Linked DNA regions of Homo sapiens: region 1 is linked to region 2. Evidence: promoter capture Hi-C in human tissues and cell types (Jung and others, 2019). All regions are on one chromosome and are shown on one strand. Each heading gives the region's core, a stretch centred on a gene start or on the middle of the fragment in contact. The rest is flanking DNA. Distances are from core to core; before and after follow the strand shown. Region 1 overlaps MYORG (myogenesis regulating glycosidase). Region 2 holds the start of DCTN3 (dynactin subunit 3).

Region 1 (5,976 bases), core at 3,477-5,976, 260 kb after region 2:
AAATGTTAATCACTAAGACATGGGGAAAATGTCTGCAGGGCATGTCAGAGACCTTTGCAGCAGTGCCTCCCATCACAGGCCTGGAGGCCTAGGAGGGAAAAAATGGTTTTGTGGGCCAGGCCCAAGGTCCCCTTGCTGTGTGCAGCCCAGGGACTTGGTACCATGCATCCCAGCTGCTCTAGTCATGGCTAAAAGGGGCCAAGATACAGCTCAGGCCTTGGCTTCAGAGGGTGCAAGCCCCAAGTCTTGGCATCTTCCACGTAGTGTTGAGCCTGCAGGTGCACAGAAGTCAAGAACTGAGGTTTGGGAACCTCTGCCTAGATTTCAGAGAATGTATGGAAATGCATGTATGTCCAGGCAGAAGTTTGCTACAGGAGTGAGGCCCTCATGGAGAACCTCTGTTAAGGCAATGTGGAAGGGGAAGCCCCCACACAGAGACCCCACTGGGACACTGCCTAGTAGAGCTGTCAGAAGAAGGCCACCGTCCTCCAGACATCAGAATGGTATATCCACTGACAGCTTGCACCATGCACCTGGAAAAGCCACAGACACTCAACGCCAGCCTGTAAAAGCAACCGAGAAGTAGGCTGTACCCTGCAATGCCATAGGGGTGGAGCTGCCCAAGACCATGGGAACCCACCTCCTGCATCAGTGTGACCTGGATGTGAGACATGGAGTCAAAGGAGACCATTTTGGAGCTTTAAGATTTAACTGCCCTGCTGGATTTCAGACTTGCATGGGGCCTTTAGCCACTTCGTTTTGGCCAACTTCTCCCACTTGAAATGGGTGTATTTAGCCAATGCCTGTACCTCCGTTGTATCTAGGAAGTAACTAACTAGCCTTTGATTTTACAGGCTCATAGGTGGAAGGGACTTGCCTTGTTTCAGATGAGACTTTGGAGTATGGACTTTTGAGTTAATGCTGAAATGAGTTAAGACTTTGGGGGACTGTTGGGAAGGCATGATTGATTTTTAAATGAGAGGACATGAGATTTGGGAGGGGCCAGGGAGAGAATGATATGGTTTGGCTGTGTCCCCATCCAAATATCACCTTAAATTGTAGCTCCCATAATTGTGGGAGGGACCTGGTGGGAGATAATTGAATCATAGGGGCAGTTTCTCCCATACTGTTCTGGTGGTAGTGAATAAGTCTCACGAGATCTGATGGTTTAATAAGGGGTTTCCCCTTTTGCTTGGCTCTCATTCTCTCTTGTCTGCTGCCATGTAAGATGTGCCTTTTGCCTTCCACCATGATTGTGAGGCCTCCCAGCCACATGGAACTGTGAGTTCATTAAACCTCTTTTTCTTCATAAATTACCCAGTCTCGGGTATGTCTTTATCAGCAGTGTGAAAACAGACTAATACACCACTCCTCTACCTTCTTTATTTTCTCAGTGTGGAAAATGCCTGATGAAAGCTTTGGGGCCCTCACAGATGCACAACTCAAGTGCTGATTCTATCACTTATCTACCAGCTCTGTGACCTTGAACAAGCCGCTTAACCTTGCTAAGCCTCTGTTTTCTCATATGTCAAATGGTGATAATAATGCCTACCTCCCGAGGTTGTTGTAAGAATTATAAGCACAAATGTATGTAAAGTGCCTGGCACAAAGTAGGTGCTCAATAAATGGTAGCTATTATAATACTATTTCTTGTTTTATTGATTAAAAACAAGGATCCTTCTAGAACCCAGCTCTCAGCCTGGATGGCTTTCTCTGGGCCTGCTGTGACACCCCCTCCCCCGTCCTCTGTACATAGCACCAGTTGAACTCTGAGTTTGTGACCCAAGGGACACTGTAGTCCAGGAGAAAGGCAAAAAGAGAGATACCTCAAGGTGGGATGTCAGGAGCCAGGATTCCTGGGTCCCTGGGAGATGGAAAGTGAATATAGTTTCTCTCCTTTTCATCAAGTGTCTACCATCTACCAACTGATACTCACTGATAAGCCTCCCCAGGCCCTGGTGTCCAGCCATGTGCTCTAGAGTAAGTGTAGAAGGAGAACCCCAGGCTGGGCCCTGGAAAGTTCCTTAAATGGCTGGAGAACATGACCCACATTTGAATGGTTCTCCAGCTTTCTATGCAACCTGAAACCAGTTTTACCTAACCTTGGTTTCTTCATCTTTAAAATGGAATTTCTAGGATTCACTGAGATGTGTATAAAACCCTATGCAGGGGGAGTGGGGAGGAATAGCATTAGGAGATATACCTAATGTAAATGACGGGTTAACGGGTGCAGCACACCAACATGGCACATGTATACATATGTAACAAACCTGCACGTTGTGCACATGTACCCTATAACTTAAAGTATAATAAATTAAGAAAAAAAAAGAGGAAAAAAATAAATAAAACACACAAAAATTGGCAAAGAGTAAGTGCTCAATAAATGGTAACTCCTATGAACTATTATAAACAAGGAACAAAGAGAGAAAAGCCTTGGCTAGAACCTGTATTGTCCAATATGGTAGTGAGTAGCCACATATGGCTTCTTAAATTTACTTCTAAAATTAATTAAAATTCAGTTCTTTAGGCACATTAGCCACACTTCAAATGTTCAACAGCCATATGTGACTAGTGGCTAATATATTGGACAGTGCAAATTATAGAACTTTTCCATAGTTGCAACAAGTATTATTGGACAGCCCTGGACCAAGCAGTGTATGACATGGGGGGGAAGAAGATAATCTGTGAGGCTTCCCTGGAGGAGGAGTACCTTTTAGAAGGGCATTGAAGGCAGGCAGGAGTGTCTGACGGCCTGGATGGAAACCAGACTGCACACCTTGTCTGGGCAAATTCCAACAAACTGGCCCTTGGCTTGGGATCTGGTTTCTTGTCTGGCTTCTGCCATTGACCCCATTAATCACAAAAGCACAGATGAACAAACTGAAGCTCTGAGAGAGGAGGGTATTGGCCTGAGGTCATATGGAAAATTAGTAACCACAGCTGCACTAGAACGTTGGTATCCTGTTTGCAGGGATCTAGAATCTCAGACCCAGAACTCATCCCCTTTCAACAGCATGGCCCATCCCAGTCTGTATACCTCCAAGGATGGGAGCTAGCTGAAATGTGCATCTCTGAAGCTGCCACCAAGTGGGCCTGATTCTAGGCCGAGAAGTGTTTCCCCTTTCTCCATTGATGCTAAAAAAAGATTCAAGTAATTGGGAGGGCATGCTGAAATGTCAGGATTCACGAGGATCTTTCTTGGAGTTAGGGAAAGAGAAAAGAACTGGGCTGCCAGCTATCCCTATCCCTAATTTCCCAGGGTGCCAGGAACCCTGGCTCCTGCCAGCCTTTTCCAGTCCCTTATCCCTGCACATTCCAAATTTATCTCTCTCTGCACATCTGGATCTGGGTGGGGGCGGGTGCTGACCCTCCCCTGTGGAGCTTCCAGCAGCCTTGTTGTAGCCAGAATTCCTCACTGGTCTGCCCTCTACCCCTGGGCTGGTGGGTGGTGGGTGTGATATGCATAAATGGGAACTCCCTTCAGGAGTACTGGGGATGAACTGAGTGGCCATTGCAGGAAGCCTGGGACTGGAGCCTAGGCTCCCATTCTGTGACCTTCTGTTCCTGAGAGTGTGTCTCAGTTTCCCTTCCAACACTATATGAATGGGTTGAGCCCCAGCCAAGCCTGCTCTATGAGCCCAAGCTATGGGTTTTCTGGGAGAGTTTTTGTTGTTGTTTCCCCAGATTTCTAACCCTGGATCTGGCTCCAGAGCAAATCTTATTCTCCTGGTTCCCCTCACCAAGTACTCTGGTCGTTTCTCCCCTCCCTGAGTAAGGGCCAATGTTGACTTCTTTGTCCCCTGGCCACTATCCCACATCAGACCTAATCAACTGGAGCCTGGACCACTGTAGTGGTCTCCTAATTCTTTCCGCTCTTGGACCCGGCAAACCACCAATCCACACAGCAGCCAAGGAAATCTTCGTGAAATTCAATCATGTCATTTAGAAAAAAATCAAAGCTTTGGTGTTCAAGGCATCTATGATGTGGCTTCTTTTCACTCCTCTGTCTCTGCTTCTGTGAGGGAGACACACACACACAAACACACACACACACACACACCCCATCATATTTTGAAAGGCATTTGAAGAAATACTACCTTCTATTCTGGAAACAGCTATACCACCATCCCTTCCAGGAAAGGTCTGCACAGACTCAGCCTTGAAGAAAAATGCAGTGGCAACTGCGTGGTTTCCTTTCCTGCCATTGTTCGACTCAGTGGGGCTTCTGCTGATACCCTACCCTCTCCAGACACACCCCTGCTCCCAAGGAAGCAGCCTGCTTTTTATCTTAAGGCTAGTCCTGCCCAAGGATCTTTCCAGCAGCTTGAGGAGAGGGTAGAATACTCGGCCTTATGCGGCGAGCCCTGGGTTGCATGGCTCCAGGGTTGCGGGGAGGTATGGGAGAAAACAGAAGAGGAGGCCCCGTTCTGGGGAGCTCTCAGTCTAGAGAACAGGAAAAGGTTGTGCCTCTTGTGCTCTGTATTCTTGTGCTGTTTTTCCCTCTCAGGCCCCTTTTCCCTCCCCAGGGAGTCTAGTTGAGAACTTCCTATTACATAATCCTGAGCAGGATGGCGGCGGGAGGGGACGGAAAGTGGATTTGGTAGGGATTGGGGAAAGGCAGACAATCGGTCTCACCGAGACTGGGCCCCCGTAGCACAGCTTCAAGAGAGCAGCAGCAGGGGGAAGGGGGAATGGCACTTCTAGAAAAGAAAGAACGAGTTGGGCCAAAGGATGGATGGCTAGAGGTCAGAGCCTCTACTCCCCAAACATAGGGGCCTCACTTGGGGTCACATATCTGCACAGGAATTTCAATTGAAATCCTACCATTATAACTTCATTCCTTAAAGTCTTCAATTCAGCAAACAAGCACTTTCAGTAGAGGTGTAAGGCATTGTTTTTTAAGGTCAAAAGGGTATTTTGGTTTTCTACTGCCCCTGTGAAATGCCCCTAGGAGGTGAAAGCTTAAGACCACCCTGCTGGGGAGAGGGTCATTTGATGCTGCTTCACCCTGAGCAGTGAAGGGGTAGTGGGGAAACAGGTGGTGCTCCAGGCAGAGCCTCTTTCGTGTGGGTGGGAAAATAGGGAAAATTTCAAGGAGGAGATGCTCTGGAGCTTGGAGGGCTTCCGATTGAAGGGGAAATTGAAGTCTTAGCCCCACATGTCCCGTCGCAGGTGAAACCACATCCAATACAAGGAGGTAAACTACCCACCTTCACTGACTCCCACAATATTTACCTAGTTGCCTTCCCTATCACCCAGCCAGAGTCCACCCCACAGGGGCCAGAAGAGGTACATAGTTCCTTGCACATTTATCTCTGTGCCTGAGACATCACAAGAGATATTGGCCACTTTCTAAACCTTACAAACCTTGGGGGCCAGAACCCGGCTGGGACCAGTTCTTTCAGGCACAGGGATATACATAGTCTGTTGCACTTAGAACACTTGCTCCCTCTTCCCTCCCTAGTGCCCACAGTTGGCCTCTCAATAGTGTTATGCTTGAATTCCACTCCTAGCTATACCACTGAGCCTCCCAGACATAACCACTCTGGACCCTAGGTTGAGCCCTGACCCTGACCATTGATGATTCTGTCTGGACCCCACATCCTCTAAACATGACACAGAAGCCAGACTGGGACTTTGTGGCCCCTGCTCAGGGGCAGGGAAGTTTTGAGTCTATGTTAAAACATGACTCTACCAAATAGTGCTTTTTCAGGTGCTGGGCACAGTGGCTCATGCCTGTAATCCCAGCACTTTAGGGGGCTGAGGAGGGAGGATTGCTTGAGACCAGGAGTTTGAGACCAGCCTGGCTAATATAGTAAGACTCCATCTCTTTAAAACAAATAAATAGTTCTTTTCGTATAAGTAAATTTCTAGAAAAAATCAAAAGCACAAAATAAATTATTTTTTTTTTTTTTTTTCTGAGACAGTCTTGTTCTGTCACCCAGGCTGGAATGCAGTGGCGTGATCTCAGCTCAC
Region 2 (6,102 bases), core at 813-3,312:
GGGGAGCTGAATAACCTGTTCTTCTAGAGGAGAGTGGAATTCCAAACCCTTGTCTGGCACTGCCTGTGGGCCTGGCACTGGGACCTACACGGGAGAAATTGGCACCAGAGGAGCCCCCAGAGAAGAGAGCTGTGCTGATGGGGCCTATGGACCCACCTCGACCTTGCATGCCCCCCAGTTTCCTGCCCCGTGGCAAGGTTCCCCTGAGGGGTGAGGAGGGGCTTGTTGTGAGGGGGCTTCGGGACTGTACACTGAGGGAGGATTGACCCATCACCTGATAGGTGTTAGAGACGGGGCAGACAGATTCCTCTGTAGACAACTGTGTGAGTATAGGTGTGGGGCTGAAGTGGAATGGGGGCTGTCTACGGGGATGGAGGGGGGAAATTCTATTAATAAGTCAGAAGTCTGATTCTCCAAAATGTGATTCCTCTGCCCCCTCCTGGACAGAAGAGCGGCTGGATGGGCCTCTTAATCTGGCAGGCAGTGGCATCAGCAGTATCAACATGGCCCTAGAGATCAACGGGGTGGTCTACACTGGTATGGGTACTGCAGGCTGTCTACACTGGCATGGGGTCAGGGGTATTTAGGCTGGCATGGGGATTTTAGACTTCCTCTACTAGCATGAAGTTCAGGGATATCTAAACTTGCATGAGTAACATGGAGTTCAGGGGATTGCTAGACTGGCATGGGTTAAAGGGGGTGTCTACATGGCATGGGATCCAAGGCATGACCTCTCTGGCATGAGTACCAGGGGATGTCTGCCTTGTCTTGGGCCTATGTATCAGCATAAATATTCCTTGTTTACCTGTTTGAGGTATCTACATTAGCAATGGAGTCTCTTACTGACCCAAGGAGCTTGTCCTCATTGGTTTGTGGCAGGGGTACGTGTGTAGTGTTCTAGCAACCAGAACACTTACTTTTGTTCCCCTCTTCTGTTTCCATACCCTACCCCCTCCTGCTTGTTTTTGCCCTCTACCATCTCCTCACCCCTTTGCCAGGTGTCCTCTTTGCCCGCCGCCAGCCTGTGCCAGCTTCCCAGGGTCCAACCAACCCTGCACCCCCACCCTCCACAGGGCCCCCTTCCAGCATCTTGCCCTGAGAGGTCCTACTTGAAACTAAGAGTCCCAGCCCCATTGCTGAGGGGGGAGGAGACCCCCTGCTTTGATTCTTTCTGGCTGCCCACTCTGGGACCCAGCCCTGGGAGGGGACGACACCTCCCATGCCATGTGGACTTAAAACCAAAGTTTCTTTTGATGTTACACCTACCTCATTGTAAAGGGAGGGCACCTCCTCCCTGGCCAATTCCAGCAGCACCTACCAAAGGGTTCTTCCTCCAGTAACCCCATCATCTCCTCATGTGTTCCCTCTGTCAATGTCATCTCTAGGACCCTACCCTTTTGAGTCAGCCCTGCTTCTCTTCAGGAGCCAAGTGAAAGGTTGGGTTGGGGTACTGTGAAAGAGACATCCCTCAGGTCACATCTAGACAATAAAGCTGCGGTCCCTCCCTCTCTGATGCCTCCTTTCTTGTTTGGGTATGGGAGGTGGGGAGGAATGATGTGGAACATAGGCTGCCTTGGGCCAGGGGCTTTCAGAGGTTAAGGCAGAATAGCAAAGTTTCGTGAGAATAGAAGAGCTCCGTCTCTTGAATCAGACAGCCTGAGTTCAAGTCCTGTTTCTGTCCCTATAGTGCTGGGTGGCCTTGGGCAAGTTACTTAATCAACTGAACCTTAGAAGACTCCAAAAGTTTATGGTAACTCACGGAGCCTCCTAATGATGTATCTATGGGAATGGACCTATCCTGGAACACGTGCAAACTCAGGGAATGGCGTGGGGAAAGCTCTTTGGTACCCGAAAAGCAAAGGTTATCTTGACAACCAGGCACTGGAAGCCAGGGGAGGGATGGGACAGAGCCGTTGCCAAGGTAATCAGCTTTTGACAGCTCCGAGGAGTAACTTCCGGCACTGAAGGGCTGAATCATGGCGTCACTTCCTGCATAAAGGGCCGCTCGTGCACTCGGATTGGCTAGCCTTCTTATTTGGACTGACGTCCCGCCCTCTGGCTGTTTCCTGGCCGAGGTGGGTCGGTAGTAGCGATGGCGGGTCTGACTGACTTGCAGCGGCTACAGGCCCGAGTGGAAGAGCTGGAGCGCTGGGTGTACGGGCCGGGCGGGGCGCGCGGCTCACGGAAGGTGAGTAGTCTGGTCCGGTAGTCCCTTTCTGGAGCAGAGCAAGAGCGGTCCACTGTCCTGGCCCTCGGGATGCAACCGCTCCAGTCCTGTTCTCCGCAGCCCGGCCTTTGAAATAACAAAGGTCCGGGACCTCCCAGAGCTGATTGGACCATCGGGGTCCACTGTCATAGGGGGCTCTGCGGGTGGTTAAGCCAGCCTGAGAGTGGGCTCCGTACCTACTGTAGCTGAGACTCCGCCCTTGCCCTCGCGAGCTATAGTTGGGGAGACCTGACACGAGAAGCTGACTAATGAGAGTTTCAATAAGAGCTGAAGTCCACGATAGGAAGGCCCGTCATAGAGCCCTGCATAATTAATTGCTAAATGAATTGTGCAGGAAGAGGTCCATGGGACCCCTGGGGAGGCAGAGCAGAGGTGGATAAGGAAAACGCCAAAGGGTGAGAAGTGAGGTCTGAAAGGACCAGGATTAGGAAGGGAAGAGACTGGGTACTGGGTATTCAGATGTGGACTAGCACTGCTTTATACCAGTGACAGAATTTTGACAACTACGAAGCTCAGGTGCCCTCTCCTCCCCTTTCTACTATGGGAAGATCTTTTATTGAAGAACTTCTGATGGCGTGTCAGGCATGTCCTGGAGCTAAGTGCGTCCAAGGTAATGATGTCTGTTTGTACACTAAATGAGGAATTAGTTGTCACTAGCAGACTGTGCTCCCATTTCAGAACTAACTTCTCAAACATTCTCTTCCTTTGGGATCTATGACGCTGACCCTCCTGGTTTTCCTTCTACCTCTTACGGCTGCTTCTCAGTGTTATTTGCCTCCCCCCTGGCATTCCTCATCCTCTACCCTAAAAACTGGGTGAGTGCAGTCACTTCCTTAGTCTCCTCCTCTATTTGACCCTTTAATATTGGGATTCTTTACATTCTACCCCTAAACTTTAGGTAGGCTCACTCGCTTCCATGGTGTCAATTACTATTTACATGTCAATATGTCTCAAATGTATATCTCTGGTCCAGATTTCTGTTCTGAGAACCAGACTTTTATGTCTAGTTGTCTACTGGACTTTTCCACTTGGATATCCAATAGTCATTTCAAACTCAATCTGTATGCCCTTAACTGTACTCTTTCTCTCCCCTAACCTGATTCTCTTCTGTATTCCCTAATTCAGTGATTGCACCATCATTGGGATCCCAGTTGTTTGGACTCTTCCATCTCCCACACCAAATTTGATGTGGAGGGGATAGGGCTAGAGGTAGGCCAGCCAATCTAGAGGTCATGAAGGCTTGAATGAGGATGCTTGTGTTTCTCATGCCCAAACCCAGGACTTAGGAACCAGAAAATATATTGTGTATACTCTATATTCCATAGACTCTAAAATAGTTCGTTATCTTCCCCATCAGACTTGAAACTCCCCAAGGAGTACATGATTCTCTCTCTCCACTTTAAGGATTCCTGGAAGGTGGGGCTGCATCTCCTTTAATATTAGAGAAGGGAGGCCAACCTAGATTACTGGGATTCAGGTTTGAGAGTCTGGGAGAATGAGGGTTCTTTAACTTTTCCAAGCCTTGAGCCAGGTAGTATATCTTGGAATTAACCACCACTTCCCTTACAGGTGGCTGACGGCCTGGTCAAGGTGCAGGTGGCTTTGGGGAACATTTCCAGCAAGAGGGAGAGGGTGAAGATTCTCTACAAAAAGAGTAAGTGCTTCCATGATGTGCCTGCCTGCCCGACATCCCACCCCTCAGCTTCCTGGTACCTGGCCCTAGCCCTTCAGTTCATTAGGTCACTGGAATAGCCCTTTGGGGATAGAAAGATTATGAGGACATTTACCTACACCCAATTCAATTGGTAAATTGTGGTGTGCTTTTCTACCTTGTGGCTAAACCTCAAGCCCATGACAGTGTCCTAAGTTATGAAATAAGAGCTCTACCTGAAAGCTTCTCTTGGTGAAGGAGGGTAAAAAGGGTATGGGATTTCCCAGGCAAGGTTAAGGGGCAGGAAACAAATTAGACACTGAGATCCTGGTTATGTCAGAACTAGTAACCTGCTTAGTAACTAGAAATTAGACAAAGCTCTGGCTTGTCTCGGTGACATCTAGGAGAAAAGAGGCCTTCTACCCTTGGTGAGGATAGGTCAGTGAGAATGCTAAGGGCCCAGAGTGGTGGTGGCAATTGTGTTTTCAGCTCTGAAGCTTGATGTCAGAAGAGACTTCAAGAGAAGAGAGTGGAGAGATAGGGAAGTGGGGATAGGGAGCCTGGTGGAGCCCTGCTCATGTGGCACTGTTGGGTATCAGCTCCTCATTGAAGGCTCTCCTCAAGGCTGACCACTTGTCAAACATCCTTCATAAGGCAGAGCTCTACTGCCCAACCCTATTCCATTTTCCATCTTGCTACTTTTCTAGTTGAAGATCTGATCAAGTACCTGGATCCTGAGTACATCGACCGCATTGCCATACCTGATGCCTCTAAGCTGCAATTCATCCTAGCAGGTAATGCTGGACTACATGTGTACATGCATCTGAGGATGTGGGTCGTCGGGGAGGTTAAGCACAGAGATGGCCTCTCCATCCAGTCTTCTGGTGGATACAAGCCCTGGATGCTGCTCTCTGGAATTGTGGCCTGGTTCTGGGTTGAGGATCCTATGGATCCTCTAGTAGACATTGAGTACAGTATACCTCTGCACCAGCTGCAGGCCATGGTGCCAGCCACAGTGGGAGCTAGTCCAGTGTTCTATCAATAGTTTGCCTCTTGGATTTTCCTTCAGAACCTTCCTCACTTCTGCTCACTAGACAGAGGAGCTTCTAGGAAAGGGTAGGGGCAGAGAGCATTGCCATTAAAGAACAGAGAGAGTATTGGCATGAGTTTCAACATCTTTCTTTCATGTGAGAAAGCTCTGCAGTGTCAGAGTTCTAGGCAGGAACTATTGCCTTGGCAATGTCTGCTAATCAGTCAGCCATTCTATAAGCTAGGGTTTTTTGAGCTTCGTTATTCATCCAAAAGATGTATAATGATCATCTACTCTGATCCAGGTTCTTTCCTAAGTGAGGAAGCATACAGTGGTGAACCAGAAAGTCCCTGCCCTCATGGGCACAGCCAGAGCTAGGGGAGACAGGGTCCCTGCTTCAGGGACCTGAGCTTATAACCCAGATGGGAGATCAGTCTCCCAGGAGACTGATCAGTGCAATGCAGCACTGAGGACTGGGTAAGGATGGGCCACTCCTGCTAAAAGGGCTGTCAGAGTTCCCAAAGGGCTCTTGGTCAATTGCCATCGCTCAAGCACCAAGTTTAGATATTCTCCTGCACTGACTCTTGAGTCCAGCCTCTCCATCCCTCCCTGTGGCACTGCCTCAGGAATTGTGCATCCACTTGCATATGAATGGTTGCACAGTCTCCTAAATCATACTCTTGACCCTAATCTTTCCCTTCCTGCATGTGGTTCAGTCTCACCCTCACAAAAACATGTTCCCAACATGTCACTTTGCCTACTTTGGAACCTCAGTGTATCCTGCCTTGCTAGGATAAAGTCCTAATTCCATAGTCTGCCATTCAAAGCCTTTCAGTCGGCCGGGTCTACCCTCCCATCCAACTCTGTTTCCTGTGCTCTCCCTACTCCAGTTCAGCTAATTGAATTCTTTCTCCTCTACTAATTGACAGGCATTCCTGCCTCTAAGCATTTGCACGTAACAGTCCTCTCTCTTGAATACCCTTCCCACTCTATGGATTTCAGTGCATTGAAATCCCGTGTGCATACAGGGCCTAGCCCAGATCCTGCTCTCCTCACTGGACTCTTCCATTACTGTCCCAGCTCTCCTCCAGCATATAATTGTCTATGCCTCTGAGAGCCACTGAGCAGAACCTGCCTGGCGTAGTCTGCCACATATCTCTTTTAGACCTTCCTGGGGACCCTTGGGTGTGGGGA

Evidence for each region. Contacts are between HindIII fragments. The study calls those that stand out against the background at their distance.
Region 1: a fragment that was not itself captured here is called in contact with the fragment with the promoter of DCTN3 in region 2 in 2 of the 25 tissues and cell types used here (dorsolateral prefrontal cortex and thymus).

Annotation. Positions count from the first base shown.
Region 1 is chr9:34,362,336-34,368,311 of GRCh38, reverse strand. It overlaps MYORG (myogenesis regulating glycosidase), which reads left to right. Exons shown (of 2, transcript NM_020702.5): 2 at 1-1,646. Among named protein-coding and RNA genes, the nearest start is that of MYORG, 12 kb to the left of the region's middle. The HindIII fragment of the contact is 4,076 bases long and covers 2,689-5,976 here.
Region 2 is chr9:34,616,455-34,622,556 of GRCh38, reverse strand. It overlaps DCTN3 (dynactin subunit 3), which reads left to right and starts at 2,062. Exons shown (of 7, transcript NM_007234.5): 1 at 2,062-2,188; 2 at 3,797-3,881; 3 at 4,586-4,672. The coding sequence starts at 2,093. It overlaps ARID3C (AT-rich interaction domain 3C), which reads left to right. Exons shown (of 8, transcript NM_001017363.4): 6 at 28-210; 7 at 448-537; 8 at 999-1,508. The coding sequence ends at 1,099. The HindIII fragment of the contact is 3,867 bases long and covers 1,993-5,859 here.